Linked DNA regions of Homo sapiens: regions 2 and 3 are each linked to region 1. The links are contacts of gene promoters, found by promoter capture Hi-C in blood cells and fetal thymus (Javierre and others, 2016). All regions are on one chromosome and are shown on one strand. The core of a region is centred on a gene start or on the middle of the fragment in contact, and the rest is flanking DNA. Distances in the headings are between cores, read along the strand shown.

Evidence for each region. Contacts are between HindIII fragments. The CHiCAGO score rates a contact against its expected background, and 5 or more counts as called.
Region 2: a fragment that was not itself captured here is called in contact with the fragment with the promoter of STYXL2 in region 1 in 2 of 17 cell types (naive B cells and total B cells); the score reaches 5.7 in naive B cells.
Region 3: a contact is called between a fragment that was not itself captured here and the fragment with the promoter of STYXL2 in region 1, in 1 of 17 cell types (naive B cells). The highest score is 5.2, in naive B cells.

What each region holds. Positions count from the first base shown.
Region 1 is chr1:167,092,254-167,095,636 of GRCh38, reverse strand. STYXL2 (serine/threonine/tyrosine interacting like 2) reads right to left here and starts at 1,562. Exons shown (of 6, transcript NM_001080426.3): 1 at 1,443-1,562; 2 at 678-803. The coding sequence starts at 787. The HindIII fragment of the contact is 6,143 bases long and covers 1-3,383 here.
Region 2 is chr1:167,327,290-167,330,672 of GRCh38, reverse strand. All of the region lies in intron 1 of POU2F1 (POU class 2 homeobox 1), which reads right to left. Among named protein-coding and RNA genes, the nearest start is that of POU2F1, 110 kb to the right of the region's middle. RefSeq lists an enhancer at 864-2,956. The HindIII fragment of the contact is 409 bases long and covers 1,338-1,746 here.
Region 3 is chr1:167,261,094-167,264,476 of GRCh38, reverse strand. All of the region lies in intron 1 of POU2F1 (POU class 2 homeobox 1), which reads right to left. It overlaps LOC124900412 (a long non-coding RNA gene), which reads right to left. Exons shown (of 2, transcript XR_007066718.1): 2 at 1-3,383. Among named protein-coding and RNA genes, the nearest start is that of POU2F1, 42 kb to the right of the region's middle. RefSeq lists an enhancer at 99-188. The HindIII fragment of the contact is 879 bases long and covers 1,338-2,216 here.

The DNA.
Region 1 (3,383 bases), core at 313-2,812:
TTTCTTTAACGTCTCGTGGTTTGTCTTAAAATGTTATGCACATTTTTTTCATTCTACATGATAACATAACGTCGATGATTTTAATGTAAAAGAAAGTTTCAAATTACTTGTGGTAAAAAGAGGACTCTCCAGGAAGATGCCTCATGCCTCTTGGCATCTTGCCACTTGCCCCAGGCATGCACATGTCCCAGTTTAAAAGACACAGCTTGATTATGGATAAAAAATTATTTTAGTGCTAGGGAATGCTTCCATGGGCTTCTCCTCTCCTCATCCCTTTTCTTATAGTCTACGGCCTGTCATCCCCATATCCAGCCCCAGTCCTACTGAATCAAGCAGGGCCAAATTCCTACTCATCCTCTGAGGTTCGGGTCCATCATCATCTCTTCCAGCCAAGCCTCCTATGACCTTCCAAGTCCAGTTGTTCCCTTCCCTATTGTCTAGTCCACCACATACTAGATCCTGGTCATATTAATATCTAGCACACACCTGCCACATTGCAATCAGTCTATTTGCATATTTACCTCCTCCAGAAAGTAGGACACATACAAGTACTCAATAATATTTGTTAAATGAGTGAACCGAGGTGATGGCTGCAGGCTCCCTGGAGCTAATGGCCCAACCTGTCCCCAGCCCCTCCCAGCTGGGGCTGTGAGGGTGGGAGATAAGTGGTCACTTACTGGCTAGGGGAGGGGCTTCGGAGGTAGTGGGCCTGCACCGCCCTCACGTTGGCTTCGTCCTCCTCGCTTGGGACTACCTGCTCCTCCTCTGTGTCCTTTCTGGTCGCCATGACAACCTGCCAACCTCTGAAAGTTTGGCAAGAAAAAGGCAGTTAGGGAATTAGGTTCCTGAGGTTTTGTTGGGGGAGAAGTTGTGTTGGTGATGTCACCTCAGTGGAACTAGGACTAGGAAGGTCCCGGTGGGCAAAAGACCAGCAAGGAATATCCAGTCAGACCTGGCCCAGCCACTGTTACCGGGACACCAAGAAGTGCACCCCGCCATATTAGGAGCCCACCTTGAAGTGACAATATTGAAGTGCCAGTGTGGCTCCTTCCACAGATGTCAGCAAGGGAGCAGGCAGAGGAGCCAGCAGGTTACCTGATCTCAGCTCAAAAAGTTGAAGAACAATGACTTCCCTGGACCAGCAAGATTTTTCAGTTGAAATTATAGGATGTGCATACACACACGCCCCTCACCTATGCCCATGCGCACACCTTTGTCTCTGCTGGGGAAGACACAGCTGGCCTTCGGTGTCTCTAACCAAGGCCACAGGAGGTAGGGCCTTTGGCTCAGGCGTCATCCTGGAGCCTATTAAAGGACATGAAGGATACCAGCAGCTGGTCCCAGCCATCATGGTTGTGCCCTGACACTCAGGGCAAAGCCGCTGCCCCTTGTATTGTAAGTCCTGGGCTCACCAGGATTGACAAGGGGAGAAGCACACTCACCTCTAACCTGCCTGGATGTTCCCCACCAAGGGCTGAGGGACCCAGATGAAATGACTGAAGCTGAAGCTCCGGCCAGTGAGACAGGAACCAGCCACCTCCTTCCTCAGGGCTTCTTCTCCTAGGGGCAGGACAGCTGTTAACAGGAAACCTTAGCCACCCTCTAAATTTAGCCTCTGGCCCCATAGGCTGGCAGATTTCTGGGAGGAAGGAATGCAGGCTCTGGACCCAGGCCCCAAAGCAGTCCTCACTTAACTCTTTCCCTCCTGGCTGATTCTCCAGACGCTTACATTTAGCAGCAGAATTGGAAGACGTTTGTGCTTGGTAGATGGAGAATCTAAAGAACAGCTTTTCTCTGGGTTCTCTCTTCAGACCCTCTTGCCTGGGACAGCCTATTCAAAGTTCTTCCAGAAGAGAGTCTAAATCCAAAGATATAGAAGAATAAACAAACTTACCACAGCCGCATGTCAACTAGAGAGGCCTAAAAAAAGGACCAGATATATAGAATGGAAAGGGTACTCAACAGATAGATATTGGGAGAGCACTGTGGTACAATTAAAGAGTAGTCATTGCTTGTGACCAGGATTACATTTCTTTTTCTTTTTTTTTAGACAGGGTCTCGCTCTGTTGCCCTGGTGAAAGTGCAGTGGTGCCATCACAGCTCACTGCGGCCTCAACCTCTCAGGGTCAGGTGATTCTCCCACCTCAGCCTCCTGAGTAGCTGGGAGTACAGGCACATGCCACCACACCCAGATAATTTTTAAATTTTTTGTAGAGATGGGGTCTCACTGTGTTGCCCAGGCTGGTCTCGAGCTCCTGGGCTGAAGTGATCCATCCACCTCCGTCCACCAAAGTGCTGGGATTACAGGTGTGAGCCACCGTGCCCTGCCTGCATTTCTTTTAATAGACATGTCTCAGGATGGTCAACTGGACAGTTGTGCTCACCCTCCACATTTCCTCCCCTCTACTCACACCCCAAGGTGATAATGGATTGGCAACCCTGGGTGACTTAAGAATTCCATGAGCTTCATAAATGTCAAATAAGCTGTCTTACCCTACTAACCCCTCTACCATCACAATGATCAAAGCAAAGCCAAATAGCCCACACCTCTCATCCCACACATACCATAGTCATCCTTTCATCCATTTATCCATCCATTTACCAACTTAAAATATTCATTGATTACCTACTACATATGACACTTTACTTGACCAAAATTGGCAAAACACATAGCTTAAAGTTGTCTTTCTTCCTAGTTAGGTGGAATGATGCCTGGTATATCGTATCATTAGAAATGGCTGAATGAATGAGCTCACTGTTTATTAGGAGGAATGAGACACAGACCAAAAATAACTCAAGCATAAGAGAGAATGTAGTTAGTGTCCTAAAAGAGATCCAGAGTGCTGTGTGAGTTCAAAGGTGAGAAAGAGCCCTTCTGACTGAAGAAATCAGGAAAGACTTCATAGAAGCAGTGGTGATATATGAGCTGACTTCTAAAGGACAAGTAAGATTATAATAGCAGATATAGTAGGGGAAGGGAATTACCGAGGGGGTGGCATCAATAAAGTTTTGGGGGTAAGGAAGTATGAGTTCTGGGTATGAAAATATGTCTAACTTGGTCAGAGCATAAATTACGTATTCTGGAAGGTAGACTGTGTTTGAGAACAAATGCTAGAATACCTTAAAAGCTAATTTGTTAGGTTCTGCAGAGTCAGTGATAGGACCCAAGCAGACAAGTAATTAGGAAGACTAATTTGGCAAAGATATTATAAAATGTTGGGGCTGAACAATTATTACATATAATAAGAGAATTAACAAGGTGCCTGAGTGAAATGTAATAAACAGAAAACAACAAATTTTGTATGTCAACCAAACCTAGCAGTCAAAAGGATTAATAACAATAAGTCATGTAGGATACTATGAATTCATAACACAAAGAAATG
Region 2 (3,383 bases), core at 293-2,792, 240 kb before region 1:
AGCATTTAACAAAATTATCTCACATACACACAAAAATAAAACATTACTTCACATACACACAAAAATAAAATTGCACAATGGGAAGACTGTTTAAATAATACTTACTATTAACTGAAAGTAAGAGATGTAATTTCTACTTCTAAAATGATGTGTTAAAAATATTCCAAAAAGGTATTTTTCTTTCCTTTTTTTGAATTGTTAACTAAGTAAATGTCAAAGAGTAAATACAAGATTGAATTCCTGACATAAATTTGTTGTTTCTGTCATTCACTCTTTACATAGTGGCTTTTACTGTGCTGGGCAGATACTGCTACCCTGGGTTTAGGCCATGCCTTATGCATAAGAATTCAAACGTTTTCAGAAGTATCATTTTACTTTATCTTTGGCAACTATGAAGGTGACAGGAGCAGCTTTAATTTTCAAGTGCAGAAAATGACAATATAGGAAAAAAGTCATTTGCAAAAGTTTTAAATGTAAGATATCCAAGTCCCGGAGTTCATATCATTTAACTTTCCAGGTGACTAGAGTAACTAAAAAAGTCTCAATAATTCTGCATATAAACAGACATAACTCCACACAAAATATGACCACCATTAGCCACCATATATCTAAAAATCAAAGTGCCTTGATTTATTTGAAATCTTCATCACCAAAGATGGTTTTAACAAATTTAAGCTGGACATCTTCCACTCCAAAAGGCTTGCTGTTCTACAGAGAAAACTCTAAAAAGGTTTTCCAACATTTAAAGTTGTAGTTATCTAGAGTATATAGTTGATTTTAAAAAAATTAAAAAGAGGACTAATCCTAGCAAAAATTTGAAAAGTTAATAGTTTCTAAAATCTGGAAATCGATCAACAGATCTGTTGCAGCAACCAGTACAATTACCCTCTTTATTAACATTTATAAAAACTATTCTGCATTGTGACTCAACCTTATTTTTCACTGAGCATTTTGGTTTTTGTATAAGACGTTCTCATTAGGTATGAAAAACATTTTTATTAATATGTATATATTATATATGTACAGTTCTATGCCTTGTTTCAGATTTAAGATGTTTTTATAACTACATGAAATGTTCTCAATAGGAATTTCCAAAAAGCAAAAATATTCATTCGAGCTGAACTCTAAATTAACTGTATTTACTAACGATACCCTCTGAATCAGAAGAGCTAGTCACAGGGAGGGACCTACTGCAAATTCAAGTAAGCTTGTGCTTTGCAAATGCTTTCCTCCTTCCCTGCTCAGTCCAACTCTCCCCCTCCCCCGCCACAGGCTGCATATGCGATTAAGCATTTATGCATAGTCAACCCGACACACTCTATTTCCATATTAAAGCTTCTAAGAAAAGAACTGTGCTGGTACCCACCTAGAACATAGTCACTGCAGTCCAGCATTGCTGTGAAATCTTCTAGAGGAGCAGAGAGTCCAAACAAGGAAGAAACAGGTAGCAGTTTGGGGTGGGGAAAGAAGGTACTACTATTTCTAACAAATCTACAGTATGTTCTTAAGCGAAAAGAGGGGGGTTGCGTAGGGTGGAAAGTGGATTAAGGGGAAAAGCAAAATACAACTTCTGTTACACCATAGCAATCTTCAACTGAATAAGGAAACTTCAGTTGCTCAGAGGAGTTTTAGTCTCTCCTACCAGCTAGGACTGACATTGTCAAGGCAACTGAAGCATGAAAAAGTTCCTCTTTTTGTAATAAAATAGAAACAAAGATTGCAGCTGGCAGTTTCCATAATGAAGCTTAATCAGTATGCGCGTGATTAGGGCCTTATGCAAATCTCTCCTCGTTAGCACAGCAGCCAGCACTTTGAAGTCCATGAACAATTCATTTACAGAATATACTGAAAGCACTCCCTGCATAATTTAAATCGTTGCATAAATATTTATCAGGCTATTTGCATATTAATTGGCAGTGCATGAAGGGAAAAATTATCTCCTGAGTGCCAGCATAATAATTAGGAGGATAAAATGAGACTTCTTCCAATGGCCTGGCTTCTTGGACCTAACTGGAGATAGTACCAAGGGAGAAGGGAGGTACAGGAGACAGAGTTCTGTTAAAATGCCACTGAAATGACACGTACAAATTAGAAACAACCCTACAGACTTAAGCACCTTTAATCTTATTCCTGCTGGCAACAATGACTTCAGTAATAAGAGGATTTGCAAAAAGCTTTCTACACAATCCAAATAATCCCAAGGAAACAATTAGCAAGGTAGAAGCAGAACACAAGGCTGTCAAGATGGTGCTAGTCTACTGATAGGGAATTTTCCAATTCTTAACACACTTCCGTCAAGAGAAAGTCCCACTTTAAAACGAGGCAACAGTAAACCCAGAAGCAGTGCAAGGTGTATAAAGTATCTTAAAGAGTATAGAAATTCATTATCTACAAATCTTTTTATATTACCAAATTAACAGAATAGATTAGTTGAATGCTACATATTATGCAGTATCCTTCCCCCATGAAAATAAATCTCAAGTAGAAAGAAGACAGTTTGTTACTTAGAATCTCTATTGTCAAAGGGTGGGCCATGTAAATTGTGGAATTACTTGGTATTCTCAAGTATATTTCACTTAATGAACATACATACATATATATAATCCTTACTAAACTATATGTTTATTCAATTTAAAGTATATTTACAAGGTAAGTCATCAACCCAAAATTTTTTAGGCATTACAATGACAACAGCCTAATCATCACAGACAATTCAGGAGATTTATAAAATCTCCATGGAGTAATAAGCATTATTACCCCTTTCTTTCCTTATATATTATTAAAGTAAGGAAACTGAGGCACAGAGAACTAAAACACTTTATCCAATGTCACACTAGTAATTCGGAATCAGGATTTAAAACTAGAATTTTCTGATATCAGAATCTGTGCTCTTGGCTATTCCTATGCATTATGGATGAGTTAAACACGTAGGGAATTGCTGAGAGGTGGTAAAGCAGCAGACTGAATGGTTTGTTTTCCGTGTAGTGAAGAAACCAGTAAACGGCAGCAAAGACATTGTGTTTAAAAGTCAGGTGTGTACAGATACACAGAAGAGTGCACTAGATTTGAGGAGAGTTCTGAAAGGTGTCAGCCCATTAATAACTGTTTTTATTTAGAACTAGTCTTCAGGAAATGAAAGACAGATTTTAACAAGGGGCCTTTAAAAAGATTCCCTTGCAAGTCAGTAGAGGACCAAAAACCTTAAACTTTTGGATCAGCACTCTGCATTACCAGTTTTTCTGTTTTACTGAATCACAAAATGCTTATGAGGAGAGACTTTGGGGGAGAAACTTAACACAGCCATTTAATACCTGTAATACCTGTTTAAGTTCCTTCCTTCTTCGAGCCTTAATTTTATCACCTATAAAATGATGATATCCCTT
Region 3 (3,383 bases), core at 528-3,027, 170 kb before region 1:
TCTATATGATCTGGTTCCTCCTTAACTCTCCAGGTTCATCTTACTCCTCAGTAATCAAAATATGTTCTGGCCACACTGACCTTTGAGGTCATCTAATACCCCAAATTCCTTTCCACTTGGGGGCCTTGGTGCATACTGCTCACTCTGCTTAGAATGCCCTTCTCCACTCTTTGCCCTACCTACATGCTCTCATATGTCAGTTCTCAGCTTAAAATTCATTTCCTCTTAATCACATGGGGCAGCATGAAAAAAGAAAAAAAAAAACACTTCCTTAAAGAGACCTTTCCTGACATACCACTATAAATTAGCTGTACTCCCTTTGCCCATTATCTTCTCTTAAAGTACCTCAAAGTACTTTTCCTTGATAGGACCCATCCAAGTTTGTAATTGCAACATTGGTTTACTATATATAGTGGTTAATATTTGTCTCTATAGACCATAAGGTATAAAGAGCAGAGATCACTTTTGTTTCACTTACCATCATAACCCAGGATTGGCCACAATACCTGGCACATAGCAATTACAAAAAATAACAAGTAATAGAAGAGCTTTCATCCCAGCTCTGCCACATATGACCTACTCACAGGTGTTCTCAAGATTTCAACATATCTTCCCTCCCTTTTATTCTTAAGACTCTATGAAGGTCACAAGAACTAGAGTAAATGAGACAAAGAAGTAGGAAATCACAAGGAGTCTTAAGAATAGTTTGTCTGAAACAGCCAGAGAGTAGAGTAGTAGGAGAGATGAATGAGGGAGGGCCTTGACTGTTGGGGTATGAAATCTGGACTTTATTCAGCAGCCAAATGGAGAGATACTGAAGGCTTTGAGTAGTAAAATATACCAATCGGAACTGTGTTTTTGGAAGTTTATATCTATCTGTGGTACATAACTCACTGAAGAGGCTAAATGCAAAAATCTGAATTAGAAGCCAACAGGTGAATAGGGCCTTTTTTTTTTTTGAGTCGGAGTTTCGCTCTTGTTGCCCAGGCTGGAGTGCAATGGCCCGATCTTGGCGCACTGCAACCTCTGCCTCCCGGGTTCAAGCAATTCTGTCTCAACCCCCTGAGTAGCTGGGATTACAGGCATATGCTACCACGCCCGGCTAATTTTTGCATTTTTAGTAGAAACAGGGTTTCATCATATTGGTCAGGCTGATCTCAAACTCCTGACCTCAGGTGATCCACTCGCCTCGGCCTCCCAAAGTGCTGGGATTACAGGCATGAGCCACCACACTCGGCCGACATGTTTTTTAAAATAGCTGGATATACAAAAACATATCTTTTCTTACATTTTCATTAATAAAGGTTTTTAGTGTTATTTGATAGCTACACTAAGCTTACATTTGTTTTAGTTATGTTTATAAAGAAAACAAAAAAGTGTTCCAACAATGGAAAACACTTTCATTTTCTCATTCATTACTGACAATGCAACCAGATTAATCTTCCAAAAGTATGGCTCAGATCATATTACTCAAAACACTTCAGTGGCTCCCCACTGTCTACTGAATTAAGTCCAAACACCTTAGCCTGATATTTAAGACTCTACATAAACTGGCCCCAATTTATGTACTTTTCTCTCCTATATTCTAGCCAAATTGAACTACTTTTGCTCCAAACATGGCCAGCTTTTTCTGCCTCTACCAGACCTTGCTTCACACTGTTTTTTTCTTTCTTAAATGCAACCCCACCCTCCATCCTTAACCCACCTGTCAAAATCCTACCTTCTTTATTGAGGGCCCAGCTCCCTTGTTACTGCCACTCTAAGCATCTTTCTTCAACCCACCTCAAGTACAAAATCCATCCCCAGGGGCTTTGTGACTCACCACATTCTACATTGAATGATTTTTCTTCATATGTTTGATCTCCTCAATTAAATTATAAACAACTTCTAGCTCCCTCTGTGAAACTAAGAGGGTACGTATGTACACAGAAGCAAGCAACTATATTTATAACTTAAACTGTTTAAGAACTTAGTCCCTTTGAGGGCAGATACGGTTTCTGATTCATCTTGTGTTTCCCGCAATTCGCTGAACAAAGTACACTGAATAAATTAGTGTTGAATAAAACACTCAACAATTTTAAATCAAATATAAAATTTGCCCTTATCTCTGGGGTCTCATTAGTTAAGCCACACTAAAAGAAAGAAGCACCAGACACAGTGGTGGGCACCCCTAGTCCAGCTACTTGGGAGGCTGAGGTGGGAGGATCACTTAAGCTTAGGAGCCTGAGGCTGCAATATGCCATGACTGCACCTGTGAGTAGCCATGGCACCTCAGCCTGGACAATATAGTGAGACCCCATCTCAAAAAAAGCAACATTTATTGAACACCTGCACTGTAATTAGCTGCTGTGCTAAGACTGTAGAGATGATTAAAAATAAGTATAAAACACCATCCCTGTCCCAAGAAGGTTCCTAAGGTTCTATTCTTAGGTACACGAAACATATTTTCAAAGCAATCAGAAAAATACAAAAGTGTTATCAAACATAATCAAGGCTGGGCACAGTGGCTCATGCCTGTAATCCCAGCACTTTGGGAGGCTGAGGCAGGCGGATCACTTGAAGTCAGGAGTTCCAGACTGGCCTGGGCAACATGGTGAAACCTCATCTCTACTGAAAATACAAAAATTAGCCAGGCATGATGGCACGTGCCTGTAATCCCAGCTACTCAAGAGGCTGAGGTATGAGAATCGTTTGAACCTGGGAAGCGAAGGTTACAGTGAGCCAAGCCAAGATTGTGCCACTGCACTCCAGCCTGGGCAACAGAGCAAGACTCTGTCTTAAAAAACAAAAAACAAAATCAAATCCTAAATTGAATATGAATTTCCAAAGAGCTGGTACAGATAACAAGTGCCATGGGAAATTGAGTGGAGAGATCAAAGTTGGTCATCCTCAATGCAAAATGCTTATCAGAAGCTTGGCTAGAGGGCAGGAAGAGGCAAGATTATCTAAAACAATGTGTTCCCCTAGACTGTGCCAACAGCTATATCTATCCCTATATCTTGCTCTTAAAAAGAAAAATAACCCATGCAGAGGACCACATCTCCAACCTACAACCGTTCATGCTCACTGGCCCCATTATCTTATGCAAGAATCCTCTGCTAGTGCACACATGAAAAATCCAGACATCTAAAAACACAAAAATAGTTTTCCAAAATAAAGAATCATTTTCTGCATCTTTCCTTTCATGAGTGGCAGGGGAGAGGGGCAGATCTCAAAGGTGACCATTTAAAAAAACCTAATAAAATTCTAAAAATAAACTGTAACTAGTCCTTATAGCGCTTGCTTGACTCATTTTAACAATTACCTCTTTAAACATCAGTAATCAGACAAATTTTAGATATGTTATGGTTGACTGGGAACCACTCTCCTATTCAAATGTTTCA